Linked DNA regions of Homo sapiens: region 1 is linked to region 2. The links are contacts of gene promoters, found by promoter capture Hi-C in blood cells and fetal thymus (Javierre and others, 2016). All regions are on one chromosome and are shown on one strand. Each heading gives the region's core, a stretch centred on a gene start or on the middle of the fragment in contact. The rest is flanking DNA. Distances are from core to core; before and after follow the strand shown.

The links. Contacts are between HindIII fragments. The CHiCAGO score rates a contact against its expected background, and 5 or more counts as called.
Region 1: a contact is called between a fragment that was not itself captured here and the fragment with the promoter of TGM1 in region 2, in 2 of 17 cell types (naive CD8 T cells and total CD8 T cells). The highest score is 5.5, in naive CD8 T cells.

The regions. Positions count from the first base shown.
Region 1 is chr14:24,387,275-24,390,450 of GRCh38, forward strand. It overlaps LOC124903292 (a long non-coding RNA gene), which reads right to left and starts at 2,135. Exons shown (of 3, transcript XR_007064086.1): 1 at 1,871-2,135. The HindIII fragment of the contact is 9,848 bases long and covers 1-3,176 here.
Region 2 is chr14:24,261,831-24,265,073 of GRCh38, forward strand. It overlaps TGM1 (transglutaminase 1), which reads right to left and starts at 1,347. Exons shown (of 15, transcript NM_000359.3): 1 at 1,259-1,347; 2 at 204-524; 3 at 1-53. The coding sequence starts at 522. RefSeq lists promoters at 522-3,243, 522-2,275, 530-725, 1,286-2,952, 1,335-3,243 and an enhancer at 1,822-1,830. The HindIII fragment of the contact is 953 bases long and covers 707-1,659 here.

The DNA.
Region 1 (3,176 bases), core at 573-3,072, 130 kb after region 2:
TTTTAGCCCCCACGCACTCCCTTTCCCTACTGCATTCTTTTTTTTTTTCTTTGAAAGATGCTGCTCAGCCTTGGAGAGAAGTCTTCTTCATCCCTGATGGCAAAGGGCAGAGGAAGAGAGACGCCCAAGGGCTCGATCAGCCTTGGTACCTTGCCAACCCCCAGTCCCTAGCATCAAAGGTTTTTCCAAGACAGAGTAGGTAAATTTCAATTTTATTTTATTTATTTATTTATTTTTTTTTGAGGCAGAGTCTCACTCTGTCACCCAAGCTGGAGTGCGATGGCACGATCTCGGATGACTGCAACCTCTGCCTGCCGGGTTCAAGCAATTCTCCTTCCTCAGCCTTCCTAGTAGCTGGGATTACAGGTGTATGCCACCATGCCTGGCTAATTTTTTTTGGCATTTTTAGTAGAGGTGGGTTTTTGCCATGTTGGCCAGGCTGGTCTTGAACTCCCGACCTCAGGTGATCTGCCCGCCTTGGCCTCCTAAAGTACTGGGATTACAGGCATGAGCCACTGTGCCCAGCCTCAATTTTATCTTGTGTTGTTTTTGTATTATTTTCTCCATCCTCAAAACTCGGACACTTCCTAACTTAGCACCCATTGGCTACTGCTCATAGTCCTGCCTGGTTTGGGGTTTCCCAGTTTGGGGTGGATCTGGCTACACTTCATTTTCTGCCTCCATCGAGACTCCCTATTGTTTCTTTGAGGTTCCATTAGGTCAAGGCAAACACTTCTCTTGTTCTCCCAACATGTAGCAAAATGTCACAATTCTTTTTGGCTCCGTTGTTCATTAGCCACTCCATTTCGTTATTCTATTTGCACTACTTCATCATTGAGCAAACTTTTTTTTTTAATAAGGATTTGTGATGGTTAATTTTATGTGTCAATTTGGCTGGGCTAAGTGATGCCCATAGAGCTGGTAAAATATTATTTCTGGGTACATCTGTGAGAGTGTTTCTGGAAGAGATTAGCATTTGAATTGGTAGACTAAATGAAGATCTTCCCTCATCAATGTGGGTCCACATCACTCAATACATTGAGGGCCTGAGTAGAACAAAAAAGTAGAGGAAGGGCAAATTATCTCTATTTGAGCCCAGTCGTCCATCTTCTTTTACCCTCGGACATCAGAGCTCCAGGTTCTTGAGGGAAGGGCACACATAGATTAGTGTTTTCTGCACAATCAGTTCACTCACTTCTCCTTGTCTGACCCATGAATGTGTCCGTATCTTTTGAGGTTCATTGGTTCAGATGCTACAGACACCACCCTTCCCCAGGCTGCTGAAATGACTTTCAAACTTGGACTGAATTACACTACTGGCTTTCCTTGTTCTCCAGCTTGCAGTCAGCAGATTGTGGGGCTTCCTGACCTCCATAATCACATGAGCCAATTCCCATAATCTCTCTCTCTGTCTCTCTCTCTGTTTCTGCTATTGGTTCTGTTTCTTTGGAGAACCATGACTAACACAGGATTATAGAAACTGCAGGAGAAAATGTTAGTGCCTGTTGGGATTAGAAAGGCACATACGATAAAGCCCTATCCTCAAGGCTGCTGCAGCTGTGATAGGAGCTCCTCTTACAGCTCCATTTATTTGTTCACAAAGGATTTACTATGTGTTAATTATCAGGCAATGGTAGGCACTCAGGATACCAAGATCAACAAGATATGATTCCTGTCCTCAAGCAGTTCACACCTAAGAGATCACTAACTGGTGACTTGAGGCATTTGATTGGCAAGATGCCTTAATTATTTCTCTTTGTTATCTATGGCTGTGTAACAAATCACCCCAACTTAGTGGCTTAAAACCACAATAATTTACTTTTCCTCACAGTTCTGTGGCTTAACCTGGTGATTCTCCTCCTGGTCTCACCTGGGCACACTCATGTGGTTGCATTCAGATGGCAGTTTAGCTAGTTGGTCCTAGACAGCCTCACTCCCAAGTGTGAAGCCTCAGCTGGGGCGGCTGGAATGGCTGAGATGAGTTTCCTTCTGTCTGCCCATGCGACTTCTTTCTGCCGGTATCTCAATTTCCTTCCTTCCGGCTATCCTGGGCCTCTTTACACAAGAACAGAGCATTCCAAGAGGCTCAAAGTCAAAGTTGCAAGACTTTTTGAGGTCTCGACTCAGTGTTACAAATGTTACTCCCACTGCATCTTATTGGCCAACACAAGTCACAAGGCCAGGCTAGAACGGGGAGGAGGGGGAATAGAATTCATCTCTGATGGGGGAGCAGCAATGTCCCATTGTAAAGGGTGGGCAGATAGAGATGGGAGGAATTTGTGGCCATAGGTTGCAGTCTACTACAGCTGCTACAGCGAAACAAAATTAGATTTCACATAAACGTCAAGTTTACAATATTTTTTCCTTAACAATGGGGAGATTTGGCAACAAGCCACTGGAGCTGAGTAACTGCTGTGCCATTTAGACTGGACGTTCTATCTCTAGCCCATCATAGTCTCTACCACTTCTTTTTTAAAGAGTTGGGTTCTTGCTCTGTTGTCCAGGCTGGAGTGCACTGGCATGATCATGGCTCACCGAAGTCTCGACCTCCTGGGCTCAAATGATCCTCCAGCCTCAGCCTTTAGAGTAGCTGGGATTACAGGCACTCACCACTCCAGCTAATTTTTTTTTTTTTGGTAGAGGTGAGTTTTGCTTTGTTGTCCAGGCTGGTCTTGAATTCCTGGCCTCAAGTGATATCCTCCTGCCTCGGCCTCCCCACTACTGCTTTATTTATTTATTTTTTTAGATGGAGTTTTGCTGTGTTGCCCAGGCTGGAGTGCAGAGGTGCGATCTCAGCTCACTGCAACCTCCGCCTCCCGGATTCAAGCGATTCTCCTGCCTCAGCCTCCCGAGTAGCTGGGACTACAGGCATGCGCCACCAGACACAGCTAATTTTGGTATTTTTAGTAGAGACAGGGTTTCACCATGTTGGCCAGGATGGTCTCAGTCTCTTGACCTCCTGATCCGCCCGCCTTGGCCTCCCAAAGTGCTGGGATTACAGGCGTGAGCCCCCGCCCCCACCCCCACCTATCGCTTTTTAAAGGTGAGGAAATTGGGATTTCCAGGGCTAGGATGTAGTAGTCTCTGGGCTACCGATATCAGAGTCTGTTTTTAACTACTGTATTCAACTGCCATCACCAAATGGGTTCTATGGATAATTACATGGGAAACCACTG
Region 2 (3,243 bases), core at 97-2,596:
CTGGTCCGAGCGCGAGCTCAGCAAGTCCACACCGTTCACTACTAGCATGCCCTCTGCAAGGACACAGCTCCGTGTCAGTGAAGCCCCATGAGGAGCCCAGGCCCTTATCATTAGCTTCCTATCCCCCCCAGAAATGCCAGGCTGAGTCTCTGGTCCCATTAAAGCCTTTTAGCTCTCAGCTGAGGAGGACAGACCGGCCTCACCTCGGATGGTGCCATCTCCAGCTGCATTGACACCGCTGCCCCGGGATACAGGCCGGCGGGAGTCTGAGCCCCGGGAGCCAGGTCTTCGAGTGCCAGAGCTGGACCCTCGACCCCTGGAGTCAGAGGGTTCAGGTCCCCAGTCGTCATCTGCCGCATTTCGGCATGAACAGCAGCCACAGCAGCGAGCCCAGAAGGAACGGCCTCCTCCTCTGCGAGAGCGTCCGTCTGGCTCTGGCTCTGGCTCTGGAGATGGCGTGGTAGGGGGCTGCAAGGGGTTGCCACCCCAACGGCCCACATCGGAACGTGGCCCATCCATCATGCCTGTTAGGAAGAGGCAGGGTGGCTCCTTAACCCAGGTAGTCCCAGCCAGTTGACCCAGAAACCCTCCATCCAGACAGCTGATTCAGTCCCACCCGATGACCGAAACAATCCCACCTTGGCCCAGAGATTCTCCAGACACATCCAGAGACCTTCCGCGAAGACCATTCAGACTCACCCAGAGAAGCTTCTCATGCTGCAGAGAAAAGCCTTCCCCTCACCCCCACCAAACAACATCCGAAAAACTGCCCAATGAAGAAACCCACTCAACGATCCATCCCAGGAAATCCACATAGTTCCCTGCATGGACACTTGTCCCAGCCTCAAGACCCAGCTGCACACACATCAGAGTGCTCCAGCATCCCTGGGCCTGGTCCGTCCACCTGCTAGCTCTGCAGTCTAGAGGTGCACAACACTGACAGCTTCTAGAACTCATTTCTTAGCAGAAATCCCCCAACTCAAGGTTCCTCACAAGACAGACAAGTGACCCCGGGGCCTGTGGTCCTTGGCATTCCCAAGTCAGGGAAGACCCCACTTGGGGCTGCCAGGAGGGGTAGGGCATGGCAGGTGCCCGGAGCCTGTGCACAGGGAAAGCAGAGTCTTGGTGTTGGGAACAGCCTAGCTGGGGCTGACAGGTACACAGCTGGCCCACACCCCACCTTGCTGGATCCAGGCACGGCCTCTGATAGTGTGGGCCGCCTGGACTCGGCACCACAGTACCCGTGGGAGCCCCTCACCTGGCAGCAGTGTTGGCAACCGCAGTACTGAGTCCTGGGGCTGAGATGGAACAGGTCAGGATGGATGGGACAGGACCCACAGACTGGATGCCGCAGGGACAGACCTGGTAAGTGACTTATGTGGGAGGGAGGGGCCAAACTGCTGTAGGGGGCGGAGAGAAGAGGCCAGGCCTCTGGGCGGGAAATGGGGAGAAGATGCTAGGGAGGGAGCAGGGGTGAGGTCTGGGGGCTTAGGCTGGGCTTTGGTGGGAGCCACCGCTGTGATGGCCCCTGGCACCAGGCTGATTCCTACCAGACTGGGCATGTGAGGAGCCCCTTCTCCCGGATGAAGAAGCTGCAAGGGCAGTGGGGCAGGCAGGCCCTTCCACCCACAGCCCTGTCTGGCCGACCTTCTGGTCCCAAGCTTAGGCTGCCTACCTCTGCTCTCACAGGCTCCTGCTGCCGAGTTCTGTGCAGCCCAAGCCAGGCTCAGCCCTATGAAATTGGCCCAGGGGCCTGGTCCTGGAACTCATCCTGCCCAGGGAGGTCCTGGGATCCCAGGTTGCAGACTGGTGACATCAGCAGCCAGGCCCTCAGACTGGCTCCACCAGCTAACCCCTGACCTGCTGGCTCTACCAGATATTCTGACTCCCTCCACCCCCAAGTCTGTCCCTTCTTTCTCAGCTGCTCTACAGCCCCAGGCATGAGTGAGCTGCCCTCAAGTTTGGGATTAGGGAGATCAGAGTAGGAGCAATCTCATTTCACGTCCCCCACCCCCGCTGTAGCCTCGGGGGTTAGGGGATGTTTAGGCCTTTCCACTCAGGCTTGGGTGGGAACTGAGTCCCCCTTCCAGGGGTACAGAGTACCTTTCTCTCACTGAGAGGAGTCTCTGCTCAGTTGGACTAGAGGATTCCCTTTTCTCCAACCTGGAATTCTTCCTGGGAATCCAGACCAACCGGCTCAGGCACCTGTGCTGTGTGCATCCTTACTCCACCCCGTCACTGGGGAAACACTGAGGATGGCACCAAGGCGATCCCAAGGTAGAGAGGAGGAGGCTAGGCATCTTCAGGGAGGCTCTCCTTGGGTCTTGTCCTCAGGCCCGTCAGCCAGGGCCTTCTTCCTTCTTTCCTTCCTTCCCACTAGTGTCCCAGCTCTGCCCATGGGCCGCCTAGCAGAAGACAGTAAAAACAGGCCGACAAGAAGACACAAGGAAACAGAATCCAGGAGGGGCTGTTTGGTGATGCATCAGGCAGGGAGGTGCCGTGGGGAGTGGGGACAGAGAGGCCCCAGGAACTGGCAGGGAGCCCTCCACACCCACACTGCCTTTTCTTGTCCAGCTCCAAGCACCAGAACCTGCCCGGGGGTGGGGGCAGGTGCCCCACCTCCAACACCCTCAGTAGACACACCAGTGGATATAAACTTCCAGGCAGGTCAGCCAGAGGGCTTTGTGCAGGGGCTGCGGATTTGTGCATCACTGCAGATACGGGAAGGGGCAGGGCCCTGGCTGTCCGGACGTGTGTGAGCACATGTGGGCCCAGGCAGATCCCAGAGAACCAGTAGGATGCCTTTGTCACACTCTCTCCCTAGCTTTAATCAATCTTTCTCTCCCCACCCAGCCAGGTTTGAGTCAGTGCCCTAACCCCTGAGCCAGTCCCCTCCCCCCACCACCACTCAGGACTCTCTAGGTCAGGACAAGGTGTGTACATGGTATGTGTGGGGGGACACCATGGGAGCAGACACTCAGCTCAGGACCTCAAGGAGCTGAGGCCAGGCCGCTGCCCAACCATTCCTTAGCAATACAGAAGCAAGAACATGAGTCTAGAATCCTAGACCAAGGGTAGAGACAACTTTGGTTTCAGTGCTGAAGCGCTCCGGCCAAGAACCTTGGGCAAGTCTCAACAGCAGTTTCCTCATCAGTACACTGGGCCTAAAAATCTCATCCCTGAGACTCTGTGAGGATCAAATGGTATCAAGTATTCTCAAAGGTACTTCAACCGTAGAATGCT